7 separate regions of the Homo sapiens genome follow, and all the other regions are linked to region 1. The links are contacts of gene promoters, found by promoter capture Hi-C in blood cells and fetal thymus (Javierre and others, 2016). All regions are on one chromosome and are shown on one strand. The core of a region is centred on a gene start or on the middle of the fragment in contact, and the rest is flanking DNA. Distances in the headings are between cores, read along the strand shown. Region 1 holds the start of KLHDC10 (kelch domain containing 10). Region 2 overlaps LOC105375508 (a long non-coding RNA gene). Region 3 overlaps LOC105375508 (a long non-coding RNA gene). Region 4 has its middle 5.2 kb from the start of TSGA13. Region 5 overlaps LOC105375508 (a long non-coding RNA gene). Region 6 has its middle 19 kb from the start of MIR29A. Region 7 has its middle 19 kb from the start of KLF14.

The links. Contacts are between HindIII fragments. The CHiCAGO score rates a contact against its expected background, and 5 or more counts as called.
Region 2: a contact is called between a fragment that was not itself captured here and the fragment with the promoter of KLHDC10 in region 1, in 1 of 17 cell types (megakaryocytes). The highest score is 6.6, in megakaryocytes.
Region 3: a contact is called between a fragment that was not itself captured here and the fragment with the promoter of KLHDC10 in region 1, in 17 of 17 cell types (fetal thymus, total B cells, naive CD8 T cells and 14 more). The highest score is 46.7, in fetal thymus.
Region 4: a fragment that was not itself captured here is called in contact with the fragment with the promoter of KLHDC10 in region 1 in 8 of 17 cell types (megakaryocytes, endothelial precursors, M2 macrophages and 5 more); the score reaches 15.9 in megakaryocytes.
Region 5: a fragment that was not itself captured here is called in contact with the fragment with the promoter of KLHDC10 in region 1 in 2 of 17 cell types (megakaryocytes and erythroblasts); the score reaches 6.5 in megakaryocytes.
Region 6: a contact is called between a fragment that was not itself captured here and the fragment with the promoter of KLHDC10 in region 1, in 1 of 17 cell types (total B cells). The highest score is 5.3, in total B cells.
Region 7: a contact is called between a fragment that was not itself captured here and the fragment with the promoter of KLHDC10 in region 1, in 4 of 17 cell types (megakaryocytes, endothelial precursors, erythroblasts and 1 more). The highest score is 22.1, in megakaryocytes.

Annotation. Positions count from the first base shown.
Region 1 is chr7:130,069,072-130,071,936 of GRCh38, forward strand. It overlaps KLHDC10 (kelch domain containing 10), which reads left to right and starts at 1,463. Exons shown (of 10, transcript NM_014997.4): 1 at 1,463-1,738. The coding sequence starts at 1,573. RefSeq lists enhancers at 978-1,177, 1,208-1,397 and a silencer at 1,498-1,667. The HindIII fragment of the contact is 10,740 bases long and covers 1-2,619 here.
Region 2 is chr7:130,774,175-130,777,024 of GRCh38, forward strand. All of the region lies in intron 3 of LOC105375508 (a long non-coding RNA gene), which reads left to right. Among named protein-coding and RNA genes, the nearest start is that of KLF14, 41 kb to the left of the region's middle. The HindIII fragment of the contact is 7,695 bases long and covers 1-2,850 here.
Region 3 is chr7:130,833,213-130,835,912 of GRCh38, forward strand. The region is part of intron 3 of LOC105375508 (a long non-coding RNA gene); the gene reads left to right. Among named protein-coding and RNA genes, the nearest start is that of MIR29A, 42 kb to the right of the region's middle. The HindIII fragment of the contact is 1,195 bases long and covers 685-1,879 here.
Region 4 is chr7:130,690,372-130,693,093 of GRCh38, forward strand. No RefSeq gene overlaps it. Among named protein-coding and RNA genes, the nearest start is that of TSGA13, 5.2 kb to the left of the region's middle. The HindIII fragment of the contact is 3,861 bases long and covers 1-2,722 here.
Region 5 is chr7:130,810,660-130,813,552 of GRCh38, forward strand. The region is part of intron 3 of LOC105375508 (a long non-coding RNA gene); the gene reads left to right. The region is part of intron 2 of LOC105375509 (a long non-coding RNA gene); the gene reads right to left. Among named protein-coding and RNA genes, the nearest start is that of MIR29A, 65 kb to the right of the region's middle. The HindIII fragment of the contact is 4,325 bases long and covers 1-2,893 here.
Region 6 is chr7:130,856,214-130,858,913 of GRCh38, forward strand. No RefSeq gene overlaps it. Among named protein-coding and RNA genes, the nearest start is that of MIR29A, 19 kb to the right of the region's middle. The HindIII fragment of the contact is 680 bases long and covers 1,026-1,705 here.
Region 7 is chr7:130,713,758-130,716,483 of GRCh38, forward strand. No RefSeq gene overlaps it. Among named protein-coding and RNA genes, the nearest start is that of KLF14, 19 kb to the right of the region's middle. The HindIII fragment of the contact is 312 bases long and covers 1,165-1,476 here.

The DNA.
Region 1 (2,865 bases), core at 213-2,712:
TTGAACCTGGGAGGCAGAGGTTGCAGTGAACCGAGATCATGCCTCTGCACTCCAGTCTCGGCGACAGAGTAAGACTCCGTCTCAAAAAAAAAAAAAAACAGTTAACATATATTAATTTTGGTTTTTATATTTTAGAACCATAGGCTTTTTTTTTTTTCAAGTCTCAAACATTTTCATAAGCAGCGTGCTATGGTGCTAGTGACTAAAACATTTCTGCCTACAGGGACTGGAAGTAGGAAAACAAGGAGGCAGTGCCAGTGGCGACCAGAAATTTGCACACCAGGTACAAAGGGTATTTGTCCTCAGCTCCAGCAGAGTTTCTTTTTTTTCTCTGCAACCATGTAAGGTTCTTCTAATGCAAAAGAAAAAAAAATCTGTCACATCTAAGGACCTTGAAAAGTTTTGTTTCCCTTGAGGAATTTGATATGCTTTTTCCTTATCATTCAGAAACATCAGTGTATAGTATGTTTTCCCAGTCTGCATTGCGCCCAGTAAGTTTCAAGCCAAAATTTCTGTTTAATTTTGGAACAATAGAAACTCCTGATCGGCACATTAAAAATTTTCTTTGATCTTGATCTTCCATACCCGTTGCTGCCTTTTATTTAATTTTACATTTCCTCTTGATTATATATCTTCCAAGCTGATTAAAATTTTCTACTAGCCAAAAGGAGTTTGAGCGAACAAAAATATTTACAGAGCCATCAGCCATCTATGAGAATACCTTTTTCTTGGCATTCCACACACTGCCAGGTGTTATTTGAAAAGTCTTTACTGATGTAATAAACCAGAAATGGTTTCTCATTGGGGTTTTATTTTGTATTTCTAAGATTACAGGTGAGAGTGAACATTTTCCCATATTTGTTAACCAGGTTTAAAACTGTTTGATTGGGACGTGGCTTATACAGGGACAAATGCAGCTAAGCCGACTGAAAGACAAATGAAACCCAGGAATATCTGGTTCTTACATTTTAGCTTTGACTCCGCCCCTGGGTCCCCTCACCTACCCGGACCCCAAGCAAGCCCTTTGTGTGTGTCAACCATCAGTGAATGGGATCTCAATCTGAAAAGCTGGCAGAATACCGTCTTGCCCCCAAATATGTGTATTATGCGTATATCCAGTGTCTGATTGCAATGTTTATGGGAAAAAGTTCCTGAATCCTAACCAAGACTGAGGCACTGGCCGTCCCCGGGAGTCTTTCCGCAGGCGCGGCCTCTGACACTCGGTCTTCGATTGGCCCGCCTGGCCCCGCAGGAGTCGGGGTGACGCCGGCCAGCCCAGAGCGGACGATGAGAGCTAGGAGTGGCTGCTTCTGCCTTTCTCTCCCCCTACTTTTTTTTTTTTAGCCATAGCTATGGTTACCACGTTTCTCTCCGCCTCCCGCCACCTACCAAGAAAACGACTGACCATTGGCTGCCTTTCACCAAGGCGGTAAGTCATTGGTCTCTGGTGGGACCGGGCGCTGCCCCCTTCCCCTGTCTCCTGGGTCTCTGGAGGAGCCCAGGAAGGAGGCTCCGCTGGTTCCGCTGGGTCAGGCGCTGACGGGACCGGGCTGCGGCAATCGTTAGCGGGTCATGTCGGCCGCCCAGGGCTGGGACAGGAACCGCCGGAGGGGAGGAGGCGCCGCCGGCGCTGGTGGCGGAGGTAGCGGGGCCGGCGGGGGCAGTGGGGGCAGCGGGGGTCGGGGGACTGGCCAGCTCAACCGCTTCGTGCAACTCTCCGGGCGGCCGCACCTGCCAGGTGAGTCGTGGGACAGGGTCCTGACCGCTTGCGGGCGGGAAGGTGACTGCTACCTTTTCTTTTTCTCCCTGGCTTGCTTTTCCTTGGGAGGAGGAAAGGCAGGCCCCACGCATAGCAGAGGGACTGGGGATCAGAGAAAAGGGAAGGTGTCTTTGAGGTCAGGGAGGGAACAGGAGCACAGCGAAGAAAAGTATCTGTGCTCTGTTGAAAGCTCTGTGCTGAGAGTTGTGTTTTCTTTTCAAAGGAGAGGCCACTGTCTCATTGACATTTCCAAATGTTTCGGTTACTCGATTCCCAATCTCTTCCCCTTCCGCAGTTTGATCTTGTAAATGAAAGACATTGGCGCCTAGCTGTGGGAAATTATTTCAAAAAGGGTGCCAAGTTAAGGAGAGAAGAAGGAAACGCATTCCAAGGAGTGATTTTGTAAAAACTACACGGGGCGTGTGTGTAAGAGGCATTCTGAAACGGAAGAAAGGGGTGGGGGAGTGTTGGCTGGGGAGTGTATGGGAAAGAGAACCTAGAGGATTAGGGAAAACTAGTTGGATTATTAATATTTTGGAATGTTCAGAGACAGGATAATGGTGTCTAGGTTTTAAGGGGAGAAAGTGAAGATCAAAAATATACTTAGTGACACAATTATGCTGTGTTTACAATATAAAAACAACTGAGAATTGGAAAAATGTACCCAATACAATTATTTGACATTTTGGTCTACAGTGCCCTAGCCTTGAGTTCAGATGCTTTTGAAAACAAAATAAAATCAAGTGGATATGTATGTGTAGACAATTTTAAAGAGGTATGTTTGTAATTGAATATTCAATCTAGTAGAAGGAAGGTAGGGAATTAAATAATGCAGAGAACGTCAAATATCCCACTGGGCAAGCTTATTTTTACTATGAAAAGAACTATCAGGAATGATGTGTTAATTATTCATCGTGTTTTTTGTGAATAATATTGATTATATTAGTGATATATTTGTTTAGCTGATGAGTTTTGAGAACATGATGAATTGGTTTTTATGAATTGTGCTTAAGACTGTACCTTATACTTCTAGTCAAAAATTATTATTTGATTAAATTGAAGATGACAAAGGGAATTTAGCACATTTAATGAGACAATTGCTTATG
Region 2 (2,850 bases), core at 345-2,844, 710 kb after region 1:
AGGCACTGAATTTTATCAAGATATTTTTAGGGGCATCTATTAAAGGGATCATATAGTTTTCTTCTTTACTTTTGGGAAGTTGTGATTAATACAACTACCTTGTTTATTATATTAATAGATATTCTAATGCTGAGACATTGTTGCCTTTCAGATTAAGATTTTATTGGTGGTAATCCCTCCCCGATCTCCATCCCTTTTCTCCTCCTCCTCCTCTTTTTCTTGTTGTTGTTCTTCCTCCTCCTCCACTTCTTTTTCTTGTTGTTGTTTTTCTTCCTCCTCCTCCTACCCTTCTTCCCCTTCCCCTCCTCCTCCTCTTCCTCCTCCTCATCCTCCTTCAACAACTCCTCCTTCTCCTCCTTCTCCTTTCTTTCTTGGCTGAGCACAGTGGTTCACGGCTATAATCCCAGCACTTTGGAGACCAAGGCAGGAGGATTGCTTCAGGCCAGGGGTTCAAGACCAGCCTGGGCAACATAGGGAGACCACATCTCTATAAAAAAAAATTTTTAAAGTAGCCAGGCATGGTGGTATGCACCTGTGGTCCTGACTACATGGGAGGCTGAGGTGGGAGGATTGCTTGAGCCTGGGAGGTCAAGTCTGCAGTGAGCTGTGATTACACTACCATATTCCAGCCTGAGCAACAGAGCAAGACCCCCATTTCTAATAAATAAATTATTTAGGTGGCAAATTTAGAATTCCAGTCCAAAATGTACTTTTTGTAAAACTTTTTCTTTGGAAATAAAGATTCACAGAAAGTTGCAAAAATAGTGTACAGAGATCTGATGTACCCCTCAACCAGTTTTGTTCAATAGTTAGATCTTATCTAACTACAGTATAATAGCAAAGCCAGGAAATTGACATTGTTACAATGTGTGTATATAGTTTTATGCCATTTGTCACAAGAGTAGCTTCCTTTAACCACTGCTGCAATCAAGGTGCAGAGCTATCCCCCTCACCACAAAGACCTCCCTCATGCTACTTTTCTGTGTCACATCCACTCCACTCCCTACCGTCTTTTAGCCTTGACAACCACTAATTTGTTCTCCAACCCTATGATTTTTGTCATTTTCAGAATTTTACATAAGTGGAATCATACAGTATGTGACCTTTTGAGGCTGCCTTTTAAAAAAGACTCAATATAATGCCCTGAAACCCCATTTAAATTGTAAATGAACAAAAGTTCATTTACTTTTTATTGCTGAGAAGTATTCCAAGGTATGATGTACTAAAGTTTGTTTAACTATTCACCTATTGAAGTACATTTTTGTTTTTTTCTAGGTTTTCACTAGTACAAATAAAGTTTTTATGAACAATCATGGAAATCATGCACAGGTTTTTGTGTGAAGTTAAGTTTTCATTTCTTTGGGATAAATGCCTGGGAATGTGATTGCTGGGTCATATGGTAAATGTACATACAGTTGGCCCTCCATATCCGTGGGTTCTACATCAATGAATTCAGCCAACCATGGATCAAAAATATTTTGGGAAAAAACATAAAAATAACAATACAACAATAGGAAATAATATAAATTTTAGAAAATACAGTATGTCAACTATTGAAATAGCATTTGCATTGTATTAGGTATTGTAAATAATCTAGAGATGATTTAAAGTATGAGAGGATATATGTAAGTTATATGCAAATACTCCACCATTTTATTTTCTATTCTAACCAGGCCCAACCCTGATTCTAAGATCAGATAAGATGCGCCATTTTATATAAGGGACTTGAGCATCCATGGATTTTGATATCTGCAGGGGGACCTGAAACCAATCCCTTAAGGATAATAAGGGTCAACTGTATAGTTTTTGAAGAAACTGCTGAATTGTTTTCTAGAGTTGCTCTACCATTTTGCATTCCCACCAGCAATGTATGAGAAATCCAGTCTCTCTGCATCTTTGTCACCATTTGATGTTATTACTATTTCTTTTTATTTTGCTGTATTAATAGGTACATGGTGATATCTCGTAATGGTATTTATTTTTAATTCTCCAATGAATAGTGATGTTGGACATCTCTTAATATGCTTTTTGCATCCATGTGCTCTCTTCAGTAAAATATCTCTTCATGTCATTTGTCCATTTTCTAATTGGGTGCCTTCTTTACTGTTGAATTTTGAGAATGCTTTAACTATTTTAAGCATGAGTCTTTCATCAGATATGTGGTTTGCAAATAACTTCTTTTAGTTTTCAGTTTGTCTCTTTATTATCTGAACAGTGTCTTTCACAGAGCAAAAGTTATTATTTTTGATGGCATCCAGTTTATCAATTTTTTTCTTTTATGGATCATGCTTTTGGTGCCATGTCTAAGAATTCTTCCCCGAGTCCTAAGTACTGCAGATTTTTTCCCATTCTTTTTTTCTAAAAGGTATATAGTTTTATATTTAATATTTAATTTATTATCAGTTTTGAATTAACTTTTGTATAAGCTGTGAGGTTTTGGTTGAGGTTATCTTTTTGCATATGGAGATCCAATTGCCCCCACATTATTTGATGAAAAGAGTATCCTTTCATCACTAAATTGCTTTTGTATCCTCAAAAGTTAGTTGTTAGTGGGTTCTGTATTCTCTTTCATTGATCTATGTGTCTATCTCTCTGCCAGTAACACACATCTGGATTACTTTATCTGTATAATGTCTTAAATGGAGTAGAGTACTTTCCTTCAATTTATTCTTGTTTTTCACAGTTATTTTAGCCATTCTACTTCTTTGACTTTCCATATAAATTTTGGAATAACTTACAAAAAATATTTCTGGGATATTTATAGGAATTGTATTAAACCTGTATATCCATCTGAGAAGAGGTGACATCTTTACTATATTGAGTCTTTCATTCTGTGAACATGGTGTGTCT
Region 3 (2,700 bases), core at 32-2,531, 760 kb after region 1:
CCTGACCACAGGTGATCTGGCTGCCTCATCCTCCCAAAGTGCTGGGATTACAGGCCTGAGCCACCGCACTCAGCTGAGTTTTTTTTTAATGAATGTACTCCTGGTTGTTTTTTTGTTGTTGTTGAGACAGAGTCTCGCTTTGTCGCCCAGGCTGGAGTGCAGTGGCGCGATCTCGGCTCACTGCAAGCTCCGCCTCCCAGGTTTACGCCATTCTCCTGCCTCAGCCTCCTGAGTAGCTGGGACTACAGGTGCCCGCCACCACGCCCAGCTCATTTTTTGTATTTTTAGTAGAGACGGGGTTTCACCGTGTTAACCAGGGTGGTCTCGATCTCCTGACCTCGTGATCCGCCCGCCTTGGCCTCCCAAAGTGCTGAGATTACAGGCATGAGCCACTGCGCCCAGCTCCTGGTTGTTTTTTTACTCTTCTCTTGACATACTTCTCACACACTGCAGTCTGTTGCATAAAAGGAATTACATGGTTTTGAATTACAGATAAAGATGGACATTGTCTATGTGGTAAATACGTGGTAGTTTCTGGGTGTCTTTTTATATGCTTCATATGAAAAATGATCGTACGTAAAACTGTCTCTTTCAGAAGGAACATAATCTGGACCATTCAGATACACCGAAATTCAGCTGTTTTCTACATCATCTGTGTGGGTGTAGCTAAAATATGAGCTTTTAAGCTTAAAAACAACTTCTGCATGTTATTTGGAAATATTTTTTACTGAATTTCTCAACCACCCCAAAACTTAAAGGGCAAATTTAAAATATGCATTTAATGCCTTAGTATTTTAGAGTATAGCCTTCAACAAAGTCCTTTGAGCCTCACTGTAAAAAATATTGACTTTTTATTATAAGTCTTGTGTCCCATGTCCTTGCTAATTCATTATTTCTAATCGTCCATCTGTTGATTCTTTTTAATTTTCTGCTTATACAATTGTATCATTTTTGAATTATGAAACAGATATTTCCTAAATTCCATCTGCTGTTTCTGTTGGACCCCTGTTCCGTTGCTTTGCTGTGAAATAGCAAGTGCCTTCAAGGAAAAAGGCAGTAAACATGAGGTTGGCCTCACTGGTCTCAGGTATCACAGTTCCTCAAATCCTGTCTTAGTTACATGCTCTCCAAAAATTTAAAACAGTTTTTTAATGTATATGGTATATCTTTTACAGTTGTTTTCTGTAGGACATTTATAATCTTGATATAAACTATTCCATCATGGCTGGACCAAAATGCAGCCTGACTTTTTCCTTTGTTTGTAAACTTTATTTTCTGTTTACATGCTGATAGAATTTATTCTTTGCTCTTAAAATTTAATATTAACCAAGAAACATATAGGGCCTTCCATTATTTGCTTCATGGGCATCCTTTCAATATGCAGTTTCAGGTCTTTATTCAGTTTTTATTTAATATTCATCAAATATTATTCCATTTATTTTGTTCATAACTCAGTAAAAATAGCCACAATTAAAGAGCAATCCTTTGTAGTTTCATCAGTAAGACCAACATCTGCCTGCCTTTGCCATCCTTGGTTGAAGGATCTCTCCTCTGGATCAGACCCATTTCTTCCCTTGTGAATTAATCTATTAATCTCCTTTGTCTTCAGTTCACTCCTGCCTACTCAACAGCATCAGCAAATAAACACACCCAAGTATCTCCCATCTTAAGAGAAGAAAAATCTGCCCTTCCCACAGGACTCCGCCCAGGCTCCATCTCACTTTTTGTTCCCTATCAGAGTAAAACTTATGGAAATTCTCTTTCTTTCTTTTTTCTTTCTTTCTCTCTCTCTCTCTTCTTTTCTTTTCTTTTTTCTTCATTCTCCTCCATTCTCTCTTCAACTTCCTCAATCTGGCTTTCCCCTCCCTAACTCCATTAAAGCTTTTCTGGTCAAAGCTACTGATAGCCTCCATGTTAAAATACTGTCAATACTCACGTCTCACTCGACCTCTCAAAAGCACTCAAAATATGTTTTTCCTTTGGCTCTAGTGACCACACGTTTGTCTGTCTTTTCACCTATTTCCACATCTTTTTTTCTATTTAAATTCCCTGTCTAGACCGGGTGTGGTGGCTCATGCCTGTAATCCCAGCACTTTGGGAGGCCGAGGCGGGTGGATCACCTGAGGTCAGGAGTTTGAGACCAGCCTGGCCAACATGGCAAAACCCCGTTTCTACTAAAAATACAAAAATTAGCTGGGTGTGGTGGCGCATGCCTGTAGTCCCAGCTACTTGGGAGGCTGAGGCAGGAGAATCATTTAAACCTGGGAGGCAGCGGTTGCAGTGAGCCAAGATCGCGCCACTGCACTCCAGCCTGGGTGACAGAGCGAAACTCCCTCTCAAGAAAAATAAATAAATAAATAAATAAATAAATAAATTCCCTCTCTAGATGATCTAATCTGGTCCCTCGACTTAAATATCACTTATATGCTAGTGACTCCCAAATGTAGACATTTTTAGCTCTGGGCATTCCCTTGAGAAATGGGGTTGCCTCTCTAGTAGTTCATCTAACATATGCACGTGGATGTCAAATGGATTTGAAAGCTAAGACAGCAAAAATTAACTTCCTTCCCTCTCTGCAAGCCTGTTCTCATTTGCCCCCATTTCAGTAAACAGCCTCATCAAATAGTAGCTCAACTGAGAGACATAAGGGTCACCTGTGATCCCTCAATTGCCTTCTGCCAGGTGCACCTGCAAAACACA
Region 4 (2,722 bases), core at 28-2,527, 620 kb after region 1:
TTCTTTCTTTCTTTCTTTCTTTCTTTCCTTCTTTCTTTCTTTCTTTCTTTCTTTCTTTCTTTCCTTCTCTCTCTCTCTCTCTCTCTCTCTCTCTCTCTCTCTCTCTCTCTTTCTTTCTGTCTTTCTTTCTTGCATTTTCAGACAGGGTCTCATTCTGTTACCCAGGCTGAAGTGCAGTGGCATCATCATAGGTCACTGCAGCTTCAAACTCCTGGGCTCAGGCACCCACCCACCTCAGCCTCCTGAGTAGCTGGGACTACAGGCATGCACCACCATGCCCAGCTTTTTTTTTTTTTTTTTTAAAGAGACATGGTCTCACTGTGTTGCCCAGGCTGGTCTTGAAATCCTGGCCTCAAACAATCTTCCTCTCTCAGCCTCCCAAAGTGCTGGGATTACAGGCATGAGCTACTATACCTAGCCACTCTTCCTTCCTTCTTTCCTTTCTCTCCTTCCTTCCTTCCTTCTTTCCTTCCTTCTTTCTTTCCTTTTTTTTTTTTTTTTTTTTTTTTGATGGAGTCTTGCTGTGTCACCCAGGCTGGAGTGCAGTGGCATGATCTCGGCTCACTGCAAGCTCCACCTCCTGGGTTCACACCATTCTCCTGTCTCAGCCTCCCAAGTAGCTGGGACTACAGGCACCCACTACCACGCCTGGCTAATTTTTTGTATTTTTTTAGTAGAGGTAGGGTTTCACCGTGTTAGCCAGGATGGTCTCGATCTCCTGACCTCGTGATCTGCCCTCGGCCTCCCAAAGTCCTGGTATTATAGGCGTGAGCCACTGTGCCCGGCCCACTCTTTCTTTCTTAAACAGCCTGCTGGTGACACATGAAGCTCTTGCTTTCTTGAGGAGAGGCCTATCATTTATCAGTGGCTGGGTAAATCTTTCCAGTTCAGGGGGATGTTTTAGGAAGCCCAATGTATGTTCAGGCCCCAGCCAGTCTCCAAACCAACTTCTAGCAGAAAGCTGATATTCTGAACTTACCAGATTTTTGCATGTGTTTACTAACTGCTTCAGAACCGGTAAGGGAAAGAGATGTAATTGGCACCTCAAATATTACTTTTGCACCAACCTAAATCAACATCCTGACTACAGTGAATGCTACAACTGTTATTTTACATAGTCTACATAGACTCAGATACCAGAGAATATGTAAGTAGGAATTTGAGAAAGTTATCTCCCCAGCAAAGCAAAAAATGAAAGCCAGATAGAAACTGGGGACTGGGCAGGGAGGTTTGCCTAGCAACCTGCCCTCCATCTCTGGTAAGAAAGCAGGAGCAGAGTTTATAAATTCATTAATCTCATGTATTGACCAACACCAAGACTCAACAAAGCTAGCATTATTCAGAGATGAATGAATGGAAAATGATTTTTAGGGCTAATGCATTTTATGAGGAGTAGAATATAGCAGCAGCAATAGCTGCTCTGGCAAGAATAGGGAGCTAAGAAGCTGCCAGAAGTGGAGGAATACAGAGAAGAGCAGGAGGCTGGGAATCTGGGAATTAGGAATCAAGGCCATCCAATTTTTCTGTAGATTTGTCTATTAAAAATGTGGGGAAATCTACTTACGAAAGTGGAAGCTGTCTCTCCACTCAGTACTTACATTCAATTTAGCACTGGAGTGTCAGGAAAATGGGGACCAAAGGAGAAACAAAACTGGGTGGGGGGGAAATGAGGTTTTAAATGTACAAGATGGACAGCAAGGGATAGAAGGTGGTCTCAGGAAAAACTCTGGGACTGAAGATGCCCAACATGGCAAATTTCTGAATGTTTCCAACATGGCGGGATGATACATGAAGGAGCAGTGGATATGCATCCCCATTCAGACATTCTCTGCCGACAGCAGTGAGAAATCCCATGTCTTCTCCTCCTCTTTTTTTTTAACTTTTATTTTAAGTTCAGGGGTACATGTGCAGGATGTGCAGGCTTGTTACATAGGTAAACATGTGTCATGGAGGTTTGTTGTACAGATTATTTCATCACCCAGATATTAAGCCTAGTATCCATTAGTTATTTTTCCTGATCCTCTCCCTTCTCCCACCTTCCACCCTCTGATAGGCCCCAGTGTGTGTTGTTTCCCTCTGTGTGTCCATGTGTTTTTATCATTTAGCTCCCACTCATAAGTGAGAACATACTGTTTTTGGTTTCCTGTTTCTGTGTTAGTTTCCTAAGGATGATGGCCTCCAGCCTCATCTATTTCCCTGCAAAGGACATGATCCCATTCTTTTTCATGACTGCATAATATTCCATGGTGTATATGTACCACATTTTCTTTATCCAGTCTATCACTGATGGGCATTTAGGTGGATTCCATGTCTTTGCTATTATGAATAGTGCCACAATGAACATGTATGTGCATGTGTCTTTATAATAGAACGATTTATATTCCTTTGGGTATATACCTGGTAATGACATTGCTGGATCAAATGGTATTTCTGTCTTTAGGTCTTTGAGGACAGTGTATAAGCATTCCTTTTTCTCCACAATCTTGCCAGAATCTGTTATTTTGTGACTTTTTAGTAATAACCATTCTGACTGGTGTGAGATGATATCTCATTGTGGTTTTAATTTGCATTTATCTAATGCTAAGTGATGTTGAATTTAGTAAACAGACAACCTACAGAATGGGAGAAAATTTTTGCAAACTGAAAATTATGCATCTGACAAAGGCATAATACCCAGAATCTATAAGGAACTTAATATACAAGAAAAAACAAACAATCCCAT
Region 5 (2,893 bases), core at 180-2,679, 740 kb after region 1:
AGTGCAATTAAATATTTTCTTCATTTGTTTTGATTGTTTATTTGGGTGTGAGTGGTCATGACTGCTAAGTTATCAATGTGGAATGGCATGTTTGCCTCATTTAATGTCCTTTGTCTTCAGTTTCCCATTGCCTGATATTAAAGTCTCTGCATTCTCTTTATTTAATTTGCCATGTATGAATCACCCTGTCCTCTTATTTTTCAAGTTTATGAGTAACTTTGTTTTAGGTGTGTTCTTTATAAATGATTTTACTTTCTGATCCAATGTGAGTATTGTTTTCTTATAATGGCACAGTTATCTCACATATTTTGGTTATTGACATAATACACTAAGTCATTTTTTACCTTATAATTGGATTTATATTGAATTCCCACTTTGAAAAATGAGGAAATAAGTATAATTCGACACCTCACCTCCCTATCCTTCCTTCACACCTAGGTTTGGCTACCCAATATTATTGTCATATCTTTAAATAATAGGCTAATATTTCTCATATTGATTTATCAGCTTTGAACTATGTCAACTCTTTATTATAGAAGATGAGGAAACTGGCATATTTACACTCACTACCTCCTACCTTTGCTAAGGTAATTAATAAGTATATCTAATAGAGATATATAAAATTCCACACCTGAAAGCCAAGCATACATCTTGTTTTTAAGTGCCCATGATTAGTTTCCAAAATTGATTAGCTACTAAGCTACAAGTAAAATGTCAATCCATAGTAAAAAAAAAATTGCAGTATCACAGCTTCTGCTCATAATACAATAAAGCTGGACATGAGAGTATCAGATCTAGAAAATTCATAGTCCTAAATACTAATGTAGATGAACAACAAAGAATAAAAATAAGTTCATGGCAGCATTTTTCATAACAGTCAAAAGGTGGGAAAAACCCATATGTCCATTAACTAATGAATGGATAAACAAAATGTAGTATAATCATACAATGAAATATTATTCAGCCATAAGGAGGAATGAAGTATTTATACACGCTACAACATGGATTACACTAAATGAAAAAAGCCAGATATATAAGGCTACTTATTATATGATTTCCTTTATATGAAAGCTCCTGAATTAACTATTTATGACTTTTCCATAAATCTATAATCCATAAATCCATAGAGATGGAAAGTAGATTAGTGGTTGCCAGTGCATGGGAGAGAGGGATAAATGGGAAGTTACTATTAATGGGTACAGAGTTTCTTTTGGGAGTGATGAAAATATTTTGAAACTAGATTGTGGTGGTAATTGCACAATTTGGTGAACATACTAAAAATCAGCAAATTATACACTTTAAAATTCACAGACTTTGTCTGTGAATTATCAGTCAGTATAAAAAGTGATATACTTCTTCCATATTCTCTTGGTCCACTCTTGATACAGTTACCCAAAGGTAAATACCAGAAGGCAGGAAGCATTTGAGGACTGTTTTGGAGGCTGGCTACCACATATATCTTTAAAAATGTATGTCCTGTTGGCCAGGCGCCATGGCTCACGCCTGTAATCCCAGCACTTTGGGAGGCTGAGGTGGGTGGATCACAAGGTCAGGAGTTCGAGACCAGCCTGGCCAATATGGTGAAACCCCATCTCTACTAAAAATAACAAAAATTAGCTGGGCGTGCTGGCGGGAGCCTGTAGTCCCAGCTACTTGGGAGGCTGAGGCAGGAGAATCTCTTGAACCCGGGAGGCAGAGCTTGCAGTGAGCCGAGATCTGCCATGCACTCCAGCCTGGATGACAGAGCGAGACTCTGTCTCAAAAAAAACAAAACAAAACAAAAAAACTATGTCCTATTATACCCTACACTTCTCCCATGTCAAATAGCTTCAACTGGATGCAGCTACTAACATCTGTATACTTAGCTCCATTCATTGGACAATCCAAGGCCACATTTCATAGCTAATTTTCTTTTTTTTTCTATTTCAAGTCTCATGTTTTACATGACTTTTCTTTTGTTGCTACCTAGTATTTATATATATATATATATATATATATATATATATATATATATATATATATATATATATATATATACTTTAAGATCTGGGATACATGTGCAGAACGCGCAGGTGTGTTACATAGGTATACATGTGCCATGGGGGTTTGCTGCACCCATCAACCCATCGTATACATTAGGTATTTCTTCTAGTGCTATCTCCTCCCCAGCGCCCCACTCCACAACAGGCCCCAGTGTGTGATGATCCCCTCCCTGTGTCTATGTGTTCTCATTGTTCAACTCCCACTTATGAGTGAGAACATGTGGTGTTTGATTTTCTGTTCCTGTGTTAGTTTGCTGCAAATGATGGTTTCCAGCTTCATCCGTGTCCCTGCAAAGGACATGAACTGATCCTTTTTTATGGCTGCATAGTATTCTATGGTGTATATGTGTCACATTTTCTTAATCTAGTCTATCATTGATGGGCATTTGGGTTGGTTCCAAGTCTTTGTTATTGGGAACAGTGCTGCAATAAACGTACGTGTGCATGTGTCTTTATAGTAGCATGATTTATAATCCTTTGGGTATACCCAGTAATGGGATTGCTGTGTCAAATGGTATTTCTGGTTCTAGATCCTTGAGGTATCGCCACACTGTTTTCCACAATGGTTGAACTAATTTACACTCCCACCAACAGTGTAAAAGCGTTCCTGTTTCTCCACACCCTCTCCAGCATCTGTTGTTTCCTGACTTTTTAATGATCGCCATTCTAACTGGTGTGAGATGGTATCTCACTGTGGTTTTGTTTTGCATTTCTCTAATAACCAGTGGTGATGAGCTTTTTTTCATATGTTTGTTGGCCACATAAATGTCTTCTTTTGAGAAGTTTCTGTTCATATCCTTTGCCCACTTTTTGGTGGGGTTGTTTGTTTTTTTCTTGTACATTTGTTTAAG
Region 6 (2,700 bases), core at 116-2,615, 790 kb after region 1:
GAGCTGAGACTGGGCTCTCCAGTCTCTCATAGCACATTCCATGGGGCCCAGTCTCAGCTCTAGCCCCTACTGCTTCAGTCTAGGAACTACCCCACTCATACAGGGACCAGCTGGGTGATGCATGTTCATCTGAGACAATGAGATAGGCCCACCAGCTCCTTCTCACAGCTGATCCTGAAGTGGTCCAGTCTCAACTCCATCTCCTCTTGCTGCAGTTGAGAAATGCAGAGATCTGCTGGGAGACACACTTGTCTGGGCCACAAGGACAGTTTTCTGGACTCAGGTCCCTCAGTCCAGTATCTGCCTGGGGTCTTCTCTAGGTCCATCTGGGCTGGAAAGCCATGTCAACCTCAGAGTCCTCATGAAACTCACGGCAAGCCTGGGCTTGGAGTGTCCTCTAGTGCTGAGATATCTGGCTGCAGTGGTCACAGGCTCAGGGAACACAACAGTCAGTCAGCTTAGAATCCGAAAGGCCCTCTGAAGGACAGGCACAAACAAAGCCAGAATGCAAAGACTAAAATAAATACCTAATTCCTAAATATGTAGACATTGTTGTACTTCTACAGGCATCAAAAACATTCAGGGAAATATGACCTCACAAATGAGGTAAAACAAGGTGCCAGCGACCAACCCTACAGTGATAGAGATGTGTGATCTCTCATACAAATAATTCAAAATAGCTGCTTTAAGGAGACTCAATGAAATTCCAGAAAACAGAAAATCAATTCAGAAATGTATCAGAAAAATTTAATAGAGACATTGAAAAAATTTTAAAAATCAAAAAATCCTGGAGCTGAAAAATACAATGAATGAAATGAAAAATGCAATATAGAGCATCAATGGCAGAAGTAATCAGTGACAGATTATTTGGATATACACAGAGGAAAAAAAAAGGAATAAAAATAATGAAAAAAGCTTACAATATGTATGAGACAACATCAAAAAAGAAAATATTCATTATTGGAGTTAAAGAGGGAACTGAGAAAGACAAAGGGGTAGAAAGCTTCTTCAGAGAAATAATAGAAAGCTTTCCAACCCTGGAGAAAGATACAAATACCAAAGCCAGGAAGATCAAAGATCACCAATCAGATTCAACCCAAATAAGAATATCCCAAGACATATTACATCGAACTTGCAAAAATGAAAGACAAAGAGAGGATTCTAAAAGCAGCAAGAGAAAAGAGGCAAATAACATATAAGGGAGATCCAATACTCCTGGCATCAGACTTCTCAGCAGAAACTTTTCAGGCCAGGAGGGAGATGATAATATTCAGAGTGTTGTAGGAAAAAAATGGCCAACCAAGAATACTGTATCAAAAAAAGTTCTTCAGAAATGGAGAGATAAAGACTATCCCAGACGGACTTTATATTTATAGCAACCAGAACTGTCCCACAAAAAATGCTAAAGGAAATTCTTCAAACTGAAAGAAAAGGACTCTAACGTAATTATTATAGTAATATTGTAATTGTGATAAACCACTTATATCTTTGGCCAAAAGACTGAAAGTCAAAACTATTAAAATAATTTTGAAAATAATTTGTTAAGAGACAGGCAATAAAAAAGGGTAATTGGTGACATCAAAAACTGTAAATGTGGAGGAAGAAGGGAGTTAACCTGTTTGGGTTGTTTCTTTGCTTTTTTATGATCAAAATTAAGTTGGCATCAGTTTTAAATACCTGTTATAACTGTAGGATTTGTTTTGTAAGCTTAACGGTAACTACAAAGCTAAAACCTATAACAGATAGACTAAAAATAAAAAGTAACAAAACATACTACCAGAGAAAAATCACTTAACCACAAAGAAAGACAAAGAAAGGAAGAGAGGAGTTACCTACAGCTAGTAAACAAGTAACAGTATGGCAGTAAGGCCTTATCTATCAATAGTAACATTGAATGTAAATGGACTGAATTCTCCAATTAAAAAAACAAAGAGTAGCTGCATGGATTAAAAAACAAGACCCAACAATATGCTGTCTACAAGAAACTCAATTCACCTGTAAAGATACACATAGACTGAAAGTGAAGGGATAGAAAGATGATATCCCATGCAATGGAAACCAAAAAAGAGCAGGAGTAACTATATGAGCTAAAATAGACTTTAAATTAAAAACTGTAAAAAGAGATAAATAGGGTTATTATATAATGATTAAGAGGTCAATTCAGCTAGAGGATATAACAATAGTAAATATATACACACCCAACACCAGAGTACCCAAATATACAAAGCAAATATTAATAGATCTGAAGGGAGAGATAGACTGCAATGCAGCAGTAAGAGGGGATTTCAGCATCCTACTTTTGACAATGGAAAGATCATTCAGGCAGAAAATCAACAAAGAAACATCAGAGTGAAACTGTACACCAAATGGACCTAACAGACATTTACAGAATATTTCACCCAACTGCTACAGAATACGCATTCTTCATCAGCACATGGAACATTCTCCAGGACAGACTATATGTTGGACCATGAAACAAGTCTCAACAAATACAAAAAAGTGGAAATTATATCAAGTATCTTTTCTGACCACAATAGAGTAAAACTATAAGTCAATAAAATGAGGAATGTTAAAAACTGTACAAATACATGGAAATTAAACAACATGTTTCCAGACAACCGGTTGGTCAGTGAAGAAATTAAGAAGGAAATTTAGAAATTTCTTGAAAAAAATAAAAATGGAAACAAAACATACAAGAAT
Region 7 (2,726 bases), core at 71-2,570, 640 kb after region 1:
CTTCCCAAAGTGGTGAGAGTACAGGCATGAGCCACCACGCTGGGCCTCCCCTTACATTTTTTTTTTTTTTTTTTTTGAGATGGAGTCTCACTCTTGTTGCCCAGGCTGGAGCGCAGTGGCGCAATCTTGGCTCACTGCAACCTCCGCCTTCCTGCCGAGTTCAAGCGATTCTCCTGCCTCAGCTCCCATCCCCTTGCATTCCTTTTTTTTTTTTTTTTTTTTTTTTTTTTTTATGACAGAGTTTCGCTCTTGTTGCCCAGGCTGGAGTGCAATGGTGCGATCTCGGCTCACCGCAACCTCTGCCTCCTGGGTTCCAGTGATTCTCCTGCCTCAGACTCCTGAGTAGCTGGGATTACAGGCTCCCACCACCGCGCCCGGCTAATTTTGTATTTTTAGTAGAGACAAGGTCTCCATGTTGGTCGGGCTGGTCTCGAACTCCCAACCTCAGGTGATCTGCTCGTCTCGGACTCCCAAAGTGCTGGGATTACAGGCATGAGCCACCGTGCCGGGCCACATTCTTACAGAGAAAGTATCTTCAAGAGAAATAATGTTTCTTACAAACCTTAACGAGTCAAAGATCATCGTGTGTCAATCAGCAATTAGAAAGTAATAAATGTCAGCTCTAAGAGTCTGAAATATGGCCCCCAAAGCAGGAGGTTCTTACTAAAGGTCAAGGCAGCACTGACTGGCTGTCAGAGGCAGGGACAGCTACTTACAATTTAAGATTAGCAAGCCCCTAAAAATAAGGAAAGTATTTTCTCTTCCTTCCCATCCTCCTGTTCCTTATTTGTTTAGGAGAGTGTGGGTAGGGAAAAGATAATGTTGTCTGATATTTGTAGCAATGATTGGTATGTGCAATTTCAAAGAGAGGCCAGATGCTAATGTTTGTAATAACCAAATAGCAGGCATGTCACCTGTTTGATTTGCCAATTTTAATAAGTCCTGTGCTTTAATTTGTAAGGGTAATTTGAGTAATTATAAATATGTAAAAATAGACTCATTAAACATTCTGGGGAATCAAAGGGCTGAATCTCTGCCCCTACTTATTTATGATATATTCATATTTTTTCAATGGGTCAGTAGTTTACTATGATATATGGGAGCCTAAAGCTTGGGGGGTAGACACTCCCGTTTTCCAACTGGTAGACACTAGTCTACCCCCCAAGCTTTAAAAGTAAACAACTACTTCAGGATGGCACATGCCACTGAAAGGTCAGTAGGGTGCTATGGCAGATTCTCTCAATTTTCTACCAAAAATATATATCCTCCCTTTATTCTCTGCAAAGCAAACCTCAGTTTTCTACAGGGAGGCATCAGGATATGGACCACAATGAGATTAAGTTCATTACAACAATCCTTTAAGCATTTTCCCATACTTTCTTGCAGCTAGAGATGGTTATGTGAACCAGTACTGGCCCTTGAGAAGTGAAAGAAAATGCCACTCATCACTTGGAATGGGTAGGAACAATTCTGGAAAGCTTTTGCTTTCTGAGTAAAATGGAGAGATGCCAGTGGTTCCAGCTTACTTTCTATTTTTTTTTTTTGAGATGGGGTCTTGCTATGTTTCCCAGGCTTGTCTCAAACTCCTGGGCCCAAGTGACCCTCCCACCCCAGCTTCCCAAGTAGCTGGGATTACTTGTGCACTGTGGCTCAAATTATACCTTACCTTTCTTCCTGCTTTAAACATGAGTAAGATGCCTAGAGCTGGCCCTATTGTTCTGTGGCCACGATATGGCAGAATAAGAGATGCTGAACCTGCCAGTATAGAGTGAACTGAACAAATCACAGCAGCACTTTCCTCCAAATTTCTTGTTATATAAGAAAAATAAAACTCTATTTGTTAAGTTACTGTAGGGTTTTCTGTTGCTTCCAGCCAAAGCAATTGTATCTAATACAGGTGCTTTAGCAGAATTAAAGGATTTCAACATATGTATCTTTCTCACTAGGGAGACAGAAGCTTCTAACGTCTTCTCCCCCTAGGATCCAGATCCTACGTTGGCTCTGTGAGATGGCCAAGGATACTCTAAATACTAATAGGACCTAGACAGGGGACTACATTCTCTCTTTTATGAAGGTCAAACAGTTTTAAGTATAAAATGCTAGCATACAATAGTAATCACACTCCAGTTTCCAACTGGGAGATAAAAAGACTGGCCTCTATCCTTAGAACCCAATTTATTTTTTAATTTAATTTAATTTAATTTAATTTTTTTTTTGTTGAGACAAAGTCTTTCTCTGTCACCCAGGCTGGAGTACAGTGGTGTGATCTTGGCTCACTGCAACCTCTGCCTCCCAGGTTCAAGCGATTCTCCTGCCTCAGCCTCCTGAGTAGCTGTGACTACGGACGTGCCCTACCATGCCAAGCTAATTTTTTGTATTTTTAGTAGAGACAGGGTTTCACCATGTTGGCCAGGCTGGTCTCGAACTCCTGACCTCAGGTGATCCACCGACCTTGGCCTCCCAAAGTGCTGGGATTAGAGACATAAGCCACCATGCTTGGCCCTTAGTACCCAATTTAAATTTGCCTGGAGTTCCAAGTTGAGGACCATGGAAAATCTGTATGGGACTAAGGATGCTGGATTCTCCCTTCCCCTACAGCAACCATTCCTAGTAAAATTTGATCTGTGATCTGTGCTAAGAGTGCCCTGGGGACAGGTGCATTAGGGTGGTGCCTCTCAGAGAGGCAGTTAGTACAGCAGCATAGTCTGGGCACATACTCAATAGCT